Regions from separate parts of the Homo sapiens genome. Here region 2 is linked to region 1. Evidence: promoter capture Hi-C in 16 types of primary human blood cells and fetal thymus (Javierre and others, 2016). All regions are on one chromosome and are shown on one strand. Each heading gives the region's core, a stretch centred on a gene start or on the middle of the fragment in contact. The rest is flanking DNA. Distances are from core to core; before and after follow the strand shown. Region 1 holds the start of RYK (receptor like tyrosine kinase). Region 2 overlaps DBR1 (debranching RNA lariats 1).

Region 1 (4,994 bases), core at 1,495-3,994:
CTAAGGGAGTAGGCGGTGAGCAGAAGATAAGGTCAGAGGGAAGGGAGAAAGGTGGAGAGTGAGAACTACCTTGACATCTTGGAAAGACTTTGCCTTTTATTCTAGGTGAGTTGGGGAACCACTGGTGGTCTGAAAGCCAGAGAGTACATGATCAGGCTGACGTTTAACAGAATGCCTCTGTCTGCTGTGTTGGGAACAGACTGAGCGAGTAAGGGAGAAAGCAGGCAACTGCAGCTGACCAAAAGAGAGACAGGAGAGCTGAGATATTAATGGAGTGACCAGCAGCATCAGAATTACCAGGAGGCTTGGGAAAACAGATTGTTGGGCCCCAGCCCTGGAGCTGCTACCTGTTAGTATGGGCAGTGTCCAAGGAATTTACATTACAAGTTCCCAGGTGATGATACTGCTGGTCTGGGGGCCACACTTTGAGAACTTGTCTTTGTAGAATTTATGAAAACATTTGTTTATCAAAGTTCTCAAGGAAGCACATTGCTCGCTCCTGTGTCCCCAGTGCCTAGCGTGATGCCTGGCACGAGTCTTCATCGAGCTCAGGCTCTGGGCCAGGCTCAGTGCTATTGAATGAGGTTCATGAGGGTCCCAGGTTTGAACTGTTTGGAGGTAACTGGTGATGAAACTTTCACAGGAAGTGGTCATTAAAGGGAAAGGATTCCTTGTAATTACAATAACAACAGGTGTGACACCTACCCAGCGTCTGCCTAGATGTTTTACTTGTATCCCTCTCCAATTAAATCCTGTAAAAGCCCTGGGAGTCGGGCATTATCCCGGGATTTTTATGAATGAGAGAACCAAGGCTTGGAGAGTTTAATTTTCCCAAGACCACAGGATTAACAAGTACCAGAACCCAGCCAGGCCTGAGTGGGAGCTCTCTGCTGTTTACATCATAGGCCGCCTGAAGAAGTCACTGACAAGACCTAGTAATTAAAGAACCTCGAGAAGCTAGGAGTTTCATTCTTTGAGGACTGTGAGCTTTTTTAAAAGTGCAAAGAATATGCCATCCTTTAAAAAAATGCTTCCCATCTGAATTGAGATTCCTGTTCACACAACATGTTTTGAGCCTCCAGCCCTTCCTGGCAGAACCCTGGTAGCAGTGGCTGTCCCAACAGAAGTATTTTTGCTGACTTTTGTGGCTTAAAAGCCTTCTCTGATGGAGCACTTTTCCTCCCCTCTTCCTCTTCTCAGCCTCCTCCGGCAGGATGAAGGGTGTAAGATTTTGTGCTGAGGCGCTGAAGCTTGACAAATTGAGGCCAGCCTATCTCTAAATGGAATCCGTGTATCTTGCTAGGGAGGGAGAAAATCAAGTTCCAGCACTTCCCTCCTTATCAGCCTCTCCTTTTCCCTACCCTTCCCTGAGGATAAAAATAACCGCTTCCCAGGGCCTCACTGCGATGGAGCAACTGTGCCCCGAAGCCAGGCCTAGCTGTCAGAGCAGCTGCTCCCCGAGGCACGGCCCCGCGAGAGCCTTGGGGTCAGGACGGGGGCCTGTCCGCAGGGACGAGGTGTCCCAGGACAGGGCAGGGGCCCTTGGAGCCTCACCAAGAGAGGGGGCACTGGTGCAAGTTTGACCGCGATGGTGGGCGGCTCACAAAAATACATCAGGAGGCCCGGAAGTCCATGCACTGGCTGGCTCCACCGCCTTTAAGTACACGAGGTCTATCTGCAGTTCTTAACCTCTTTGAGGGCACAAGGACTCCCTAGAACAAATGATGACATACCACCTCTCTGTGTGCAATCAAGCATACACACAACACACAGAAACATGGACGTGGACACAAATACGCACGGAGACACATACACTTTTGCACACAGTTTCATATTATTGGAAGGCTGTCGAAGCCTGGTATGGACCACAGATTAACAACCCCAAAGGCAGGTTGATTATAGTGATGCAGAACGATTATAAAAAAAATAACAATTTGGCAGGGCGCGGTGGCTTACACCTGTAATCCCAGCACTTTGGGAGGCCGAGGTCAGTTGATCACGTGAGGTCAGGAGTTCGAGACCAACCCGGCCAACATGGTGAAACCCCGTCTCTACTAAAAATACAAAAAAATTAGTCGGGCATGGTTGCGGGCGCCTGTAATCCCAGCTACTCGGGAGGCTGAGGCAGGAGAATGGCTTGAACCTAGGAGGCAGAGGTTGCAGTGAGCCGAGATCGTGCCAGTGCACTCCAGCTTGGGTGACGGAGCAAGACTTCGTCTCAAAATAAATAAATAAAAATATAAAAATAAATAAAATTTTGTAACGTAAAAATAGGGTTAGTAAAGCGTGCTAAGATCTTTCTGGAAAACAAATATATGTAGTATAAATTCTAATAATAGATACGGAAACGATAAAGTTGATCACCGATGGTAAGATAAAGGATGATTTCTATTTATTTGAGTTTTCCCACTAAACAGGAAAGCATGCTGCTTTTTCGCAACCAGAACGGCCGCATCCAGGCGTTTCCGGGGACCTGGGGCGCCCACTGAGCTGCAGGCGCGGCCGGTGGCTCCAGCCTGGCCCGTCCGTCGGGAAAGGAGGGTTACAGACAATAGACAAGCAAACATTAGACGCAGTGACCGCGTGGGGCGGGGACCGGCTCTTGCGGAGAGGGTGACCCGAGCCCTTCGCCCGCCGAGGCACTTTAAAACCCCAGCGCGTTGCCCAGGCCGGCCCGCCCAGAGCGAAAGGTGCGTGCGCGCTCCCGGGGAGGCGGCGGCGCGCACGGGCGCGTCCCGCGGGCAGCCCCCAACTCCGGACGATGCAGCGAGGAGGCGGCGGCGGCGGCGCGCTCCGGAGGTCTGAAGCCACTGCTGGCTGCCACGGGCCGGCGGTGCGATGAGCTGGGCAGCCGCCCCCGGCTCGGGGCTGTGAGCGGCTCGGGGCCGGGGGTGGGCGGCGGTGCGGCGGGCGGCCGACGCTCCTCTTCGGCGGCGGCGGCGGCGGCCATGCGTGGGGCGGCGCGGCTGGGGCGGCCGGGCCGGAGTTGCCTCCCGGGGGCCCGCGGCCTGAGGGCCCCGCCGCCGCCGCCGCTGCTGCTTCTGCTTGCGCTGTTGCCGCTGCTGCCCGCGCCTGGCGCTGCCGCCGCCCCCGCCCCGCGGCCCCCGGAGCTGCAGTCGGCTTCCGCGGGGCCCAGCGTGAGTCTCTACCTGAGCGAGGACGAGGTGCGCCGGCTGATCGGTGAGTGGGGCCGCCGAGGCCGGGGCGGGCAGGTCGGGCCGGCTGGGGCAGCTTCCGGCCGCCGGCGGATCAGTCTGCGAGCCGTGGACCTCGGGCGAGTACCCTCCCCGCCCCCCGCGCCCGGATTCGCCTCGCGGCCCGGTCTCTGCCTGCCGTGCTGGCTGGGAGGTGTGGTCCCTGCCCGGTCCCCAGCTCTGGGTCAGCCTTCGTGCCGCCCTCGCTGCCCCGCCGCGATAGACCCAGATTCACCCCATCCCATCCTCCTCACTGCCTCCTTAGCCCTTCTCCCTAGAAGAGTCAGTCACCCTTACAACTTTTTTTCCTTGCTGCACGAAGTTTTTTTGACGCTTTCTATGTGTGTCACTCTAGGGCCCTCGATTTTGAATATCTCGAAATTCACGTTTTAGACTGAACTTGCAAACCCTTTGCTGTGGTTTTGATGCTCCAGTAGAGGCCACGCTCTGTGCTTACCCTTTTACAAAAAAAAAAAAAAAAAAAAAAAAAACGAGAGAGAAAGAAGGGGAGGTTATAAGGGCACCAAATGTTCGTGGCAGCCTCCAACTCTTGGGACGTAGATTTGGAGCATATGCTTAGATTCTAAGCATATTTTTAGTGAATGAATCGCCAGGTAGCAGACCTTTTTAGTTTCAATACCTTTTTGGTTTTTGCATTGGGTGTGTTGGGAGTTTGGACTGACTCTGTACTTCTGGGCCACTCTCCTACTTTTGAGTATCTTGAAGGGAAACAAGAACTTAGTCTTGGGTCGGTTTGTGGTTCCATTTACTTGCTTAGCTTTGTTGTTTGGGGAATTAATTTGAAAAATTGCTGGGGTCTTATGTTAGGACTTTGTGGATTCTGGAAATGACCCCTTAGAGGAAGATCTGACAGGAACGACCCCCCAAAAAGGAAGTCCTTGGTACCTAGACGTTTGCATTCTTTTGTTATTATGGCAGTATCTTTATTTCATCTGAAGGTGGTGCTTCTGAGTGTTTGAGGGGAAAAATTATTCTCTATTGCATCCATTATTTGTCAGTATTCTATTTTTTTTTAAGTAATAAGACTTTGTTGAGGTGTGTTGAGATTGACTCAGTGTAGAAATGGAATTACTGAAAGCAGACTCTTTAGACATTACATGTACGGATTTGCAGTTTTTAGCCAAAGAAGAATGCTCTTTTTATGAAGTCGTGCTCATTCTTAATCCTTCTTAGTCTAGCTGAGTTAGCTGAATGTAGTTTAGCTGAATTAAAACTCTACTTGGGGTAGTACTTGGAACACAAGACTAAGATTTAGGAAAAATAATACAAGACGACTCATATCACATTAATTTTAGAAATATTAACGTATTATGCATGGTTTTGTAAAGGCTTTTTGGTTAAAAGCACTTATATAGCTTGTGACTTTGTTTACATGGGTAAACAAAGTCAGAGGTGTAGGTAGGAGACAGAAGACAACCAGGGACTGACATTGAATTCCTGCCATATACCTGCCCCTACATGCTTTATACACATAATTTCTTCTAATTTTCTCGGGGCCCAGTGAGGTAGGTGGCATTATGCCTATTGTAGAGATGAGGAAAGTGGGGTTTTAAAGTAACTTGCTCAAGGTCACACAGTTAATTTTTTTTTAGACGGAGTCTCGCTCTTGTCACCCAGGCTGGAGTGCAGTGGCGTGATCTCGGCTCACTGCAATCTCTGCTTCCTGGGTTCAGGTGATTCACCTGCCTCAGCCTCCCAAGTAGCGACCACTTCTGGCTATTTTTTGTATTTTTAGTAGAGACAGGGTTTCACCATGTTGGTCAGGCTGGTCTTGAACTC
Region 2 (4,994 bases), core at 704-3,203, 3.9 Mb before region 1:
GGATTCACATCGATTTCACAAATTTCATGAATTACATTGACAGCTAAAACTTACATCCTGAATGTAACTGTTACAAGTCTGTTCCCTGCCACTTGGCTCTTTCTTATTCTAAACTGTTGGAATGGAGGTACAAAATAGGCTGTCTTCTCTGTGGCAGGTGTGGGTACAAATTGGAACCACTTTTGGGAAGCTGTTTATCAGGTTTTTCTATTTTATCTCAGGGATATCATTTATGCATATAATACACATATTTCTTTTTCGGCTTAAAACAACAATAATTTGTTATTTTATTAATATTGGGAGCATAAGGAACTAGTCTCTAGTCAACAGTTAGAAAGTAACTGAAGTGTGCCAGCAACCATGTGTGGGACCTTAGAAAGCAGATACACCCTTATTTGAGCCTGCAAAGGAAGGAGACTGCAGTCCACCATCTTTTTAAAAAATTTCCCTAGATAACTTTTTAAAATCGTATATATTGAAGGTGTACATGATATTTTGGAGACCTGTGTATATGTCTTTGTATTTGCAGTATTTAAGGAAATTAAATATAGCTTATTTTTCTGCTTCAATCTAAGGTCATTTTGAGTGCCCCCCTTATAATTCATCTACAATCAGGAGTATATATCATGTGAGAAATATTGAAGTCTATAAATTAAAACAGGTACGTAAAAAGCGCATTACAGCAGACTTGAAAACATTTTAAAGTAATTCTGTGCCAAAATGTATTTTGGTCATATTGGTATACTACTTTCAAGAAGAGCAATTCTGTATTTTTAAAATGTGGATCTTGAGTTTTTAGGAGGTTCACAGATGAACCTTTTTTTTTTCTTTTTTTGAGACAGAGTCTCACTATGTCACCCAGGCTGAAGTGCAGTGGCGCGATCTCGGCTCACTGCAACCTCCGCCTCCTGGGTTCAAGCAAGTCTTGTGCCTCAACCTTCTGAGTAGCTGGAACTATGGGCGCACACCACCACACCTGCCTAATTTTTTGTATTTGTAGTAGGGATGGGGTTTCACCATGTTTGCCAGGCTGGTCTCAAATTCCTGACCTCAGGTGATCCGCCTGCCTTGGCCTCCCAAAGTGCTGGGATTATAGGTGTGAGCCACTGTGCCCGGCAAAATTTTTTTTACTTCAATAATTACGAGTTTATTTTAGTAAGAATGAAAGATTTAATTCATGATTTCAAATATTACTTAGGTTAAGGCTAAAGAATACCTATTAAAGTGATATTTAAAATAAAATGTTAAAGTGATATTTTAAAGAAAATATTGAAATAAACATTTTATTTTATGTAATAGTAATTAAGTAATGGTATTAAATAGAAAATAAGTAATAGTAAAGATGATAGAGGAAATGGGAAAATTGTGAAGGTGGTATGGAAACACTGCTTAATTGCAGAGTAGGTGAAACTAGGTTGTTTGAGAACCCATTACATGGCTGACACTGGGCTAAACAGACTTCACACTTGGTATTTCATATAATCTCCACTCAAACCCTATGAAATAGATGTAACTCTTAACTTCATCCCTTTAAGGATGAGAAGCCAAGGCTCAGACAGGTAAGTAACCTGCCCAGGACTTCCCAAAGTTTAGTGGTAGAGCCTGCCTGACTGCACTCATGCCCATCACACTGTCTCTAGAGCCTCTGCAGGAGTCTAACAATTCTTGCAAGTGTTTCTTTTATGCCCTGTGCATACAGTTCCCTTAAATAGATTTTCTCTTTCACCTATCTAAATCCTACCAGTCCTTTAAGACCCAACTTAGATGCCATTTCCCAACCATGAGTTTTCTTCTTTTTTTTTTTTGAGACAAGGTCTCACTCTGTCACCCAGGCTGGAGTGCAGTAGTATGATCATGGCTTGACTCACTGCAGCCTCAATCTGCCAGGCTTGGGTGATCCTCCCACTTCAGCCTCCCGAATAGCTTGGACTATAGGCATGCATCACCTCGCCCAGCTAATTTTTTTCATATTTTTTAGAGACAGAGTTTCGCCATGTTGCCCAGGCTGGTCTCAAACTCTTGAACTCAAGCGATCCTTCTGCCTTGGCCTCCGAAAGTGCTGGGATTACAGGCATGAGCCACCATGCCCAGCCAGCCATGACTTCTCTAGTTTAGAGTCATTACCCTAGTTTGAATTTTTGTTGCATCTGTTGGCCATACCAGTTATTCAGTGGTTAGTCATATCTATCTAATATCTAATATTTTGTATTGTCTTGAGCAGTTATTTAAGTTTTTTTTTTTTTTTTTGAGACAAAGTTTCACTTCTGTTGCCCAAGCTGGAGTGCAACAGTGCGATCTTGGCTCACTGCAACCTCTGCCTCCTGGGTTCAAGCGATTCTCCTGCCTCAGCCTCCTGAGTAGCTGGGATTACAGGCGCCCACCACCACGCCCGGCTAATTTTTTGTATTTTAAATAAAGATGGGGTTTCACCATGTTGGCCAGGCTGGTCTCGAACTCCTGACCTTCAGGCGATCCACCCACCTCGGCCTCCTAAAGTGCTGGGATTACAGGCGTGAGCCACTGTGCCCAGCCGGTATTTAAGTTGTTTTAATTTCATTTTTCAAGTATTCGTTTCAGATTACTTGAAGGTTCTGGGGATAAGTAAAGTCTGGAGTATATTTTGTTTCCTTAAGTTGTTTAATGAAATACTAATTTATGTAGTAAACACAGTTTTTTAGTGTATACTATGTGAGCCTATTAGAATTTTTTTTTTCCTGGTAAATCTTTGGGTTTACTGAATCAGTCATGTTAGAGGTCTCGTGAAATCTAGTGTCTCTGGATCTTCAAAACAGTAATTTCTTTTTTCTTTTTTTTCTTTTTGAGATGGAGTTTCACTCTTGTGGCCCAGGCTGGAGTGCAATTGCATGATCTCGGCTTATTGCAACCTCCACCTCCTGGGTTCAAGCGATTCTCCTGCCTCAGTCTCCCTAGTAGCTGGGATTACAGACAGATGCCACAACGTCCAGCTAAATTTTTGTATTTTTAGTAGAGATGGGGTTTCACCATGTTGGTGAGGCTCGTTTCGAACTCCTAACCTCAGGTGATCCACCTGCCTCAGCCTCCCAAAGTGCTGGGATTATAGGCGTGAGCCACCGCGCCCGGCCCAAAATAATAATTTCTTTACCAAAGAGGAAAAGAACTATGGTTATCGTGTATTTTAGAAGCTAAGTGCTAAAGATCTTAGATGACTGGCAGTCTAATCAGAGTCTGTCTCCATTGCCTTGCCTTGCCACTGAAAATAAGAATGATTTATGAGCAGAGAAAATGCAGCTTCTCTTTGCCTAGATGAATGAGTTGCCTAGTATTTTTATCACTCTCTTAAAGTGTCCTTAGAATGAATTATACAGAATTCTAGAGATCTCAGTGGGTGAATGGTTGTATGGTGGTAGAGAGAAGGGAGGGGATTGTTTTGGTTAATCTGTTTTAAGAGTTTTCTTTCTTTCTCTTTTTCTCTTTTGAAAGCTGAAGCAGCCTATAGATATATTCTTGTCTCATGATTGGCCAAGAAGTATATATCATTATGGAAATAAGAAGCAACTTCTTAAGACTAAATCTTTTTTCCGACAAGAAGTGGAAAATAACACATTAGGAAGTCCAGCTGCCTCAGAGCTTTTAGAGCATCTCAAACCTACTTATTGGTTTTCTGCCCACCTTCATGTGAAGTTTGCCGCCTTGATGCAGCATCAGGTAGAAAACAAAATGTTTATTCTTTCATTTAACACACACTATTGAACATCTATGGACCAGACACAGTTGTAAAGTTAGAGAAAGAAGTAAAAGATAACTTACCTCTTGTGAGTAGCTCAATATATGATTCTGGGAAAGACAAGCAATTACAAAACAGTATAATAAGTTTGAGAGAAAACGTAGGCAGTGGGAGCACCTAAGCCAGACTGTGGTGGGATGGGAACATGGGAGATGAAGATAGAGAAGGTTTTCAAAAGGTGATAGCTGAACTGAGTCTTGAAGTGCCAGGAAGAAACACATTGTAAGGGTATTTTATTTAGAGGGACTGGCATGTGCAGAGGCTCGAGGTCTGAGAGCATGGGGTGTTTGGGGACTTGTAGGTAGTTCCTGTGGGACTAAGGCATAGGGACTGATGAAGCTTGAACAAGATCATAACTGCCTTCTAGGGGCCATGCTCTGGAGTTATGATTTTAACCAAAGATGATGGGGAAATTTGGGGAGTGATGAAATCAGATTTTCATTTCAGAACGATTAGTTTGACAGCATTGTTGTGTATGGATTGGAGTAATGTAAAATGGGAGGCAGAGCAGGCTATTTATGTAAAAGAAAAGGTTTTAACCTAAGGCAAAGAGAGAATACAGAGAATGAAGCAGATTCTAGAGAGATTTTAGAAGGAGAATCATTGCGATTTGGTGACTGAGGGAGGAAAGAAGTCCAGGATGACCCCCAGTTTTCTTTGCTTAACTGCATGGATGATGTACTTGATGGAAGGTAGAAAATAAATATATACTTATAATGAAACTTCTATGGAAGTATGCATTTCTTCCTTTCACCTCTGATTCTGGCTGAACTCTGACTTTCCCATAAAGTAGTCCATAGGAAAACTGTGTAGAAAATGCTGGGTTAACAGAGTTACAGATTTCTTCTTGGAGACATGTAGAGAATTTCTGAGAGTCTTTATTGCACTAATGGGCATTGCCTTTCTCAAGAGTAGAATGTGACGCTTCCCAGACTTACTTAACCAAACACTTCTGTGTTAGAGGTATACTTTAAAAATGTTCCTCAAACACGGTTTGGAAGGTTTTGTCTGAAAATATACCTATACGCCCTTTCTGTTGTGGATTTATTCTTCTCACTTCCCAGTTTCACTGGGAGAAGGAGAGGTTACTCTTTTCATTGTATCTCTGCATTAATAATATGTTTGACCTCTTTGTAATTGTCTCCTCAACTTCCTCTGACTGCCACTTTCTATTTTATCCCCTTTACCAACACCAGAGATCACTTTTCCTTGGACTGCTTTGCTGCCA

Evidence for each region. Contacts are between HindIII fragments. The CHiCAGO score rates a contact against its expected background, and 5 or more counts as called.
Region 2: a contact is called between a fragment that was not itself captured here and the fragment with the promoter of RYK in region 1, in 1 of 17 cell types (total CD4 T cells). The highest score is 6.7, in total CD4 T cells.

The regions. Positions count from the first base shown.
Region 1 is chr3:134,248,609-134,253,602 of GRCh38, reverse strand. RYK (receptor like tyrosine kinase) reads left to right here and starts at 2,744. Exons shown (of 15, transcript NM_002958.4): 1 at 2,744-3,180. The coding sequence starts at 2,949. RefSeq lists a silencer at 2,570-3,389 and an enhancer at 2,725-3,503. The HindIII fragment of the contact is 6,752 bases long and covers 1,253-4,994 here.
Region 2 is chr3:138,165,774-138,170,767 of GRCh38, reverse strand. DBR1 (debranching RNA lariats 1) reads left to right here. Exons shown (of 8, transcript NM_016216.4): 4 at 576-661; 5 at 3,463-3,687. Among named protein-coding and RNA genes, the nearest start is that of DBR1, 6.6 kb to the left of the region's middle. The HindIII fragment of the contact is 4,308 bases long and covers 1-4,107 here.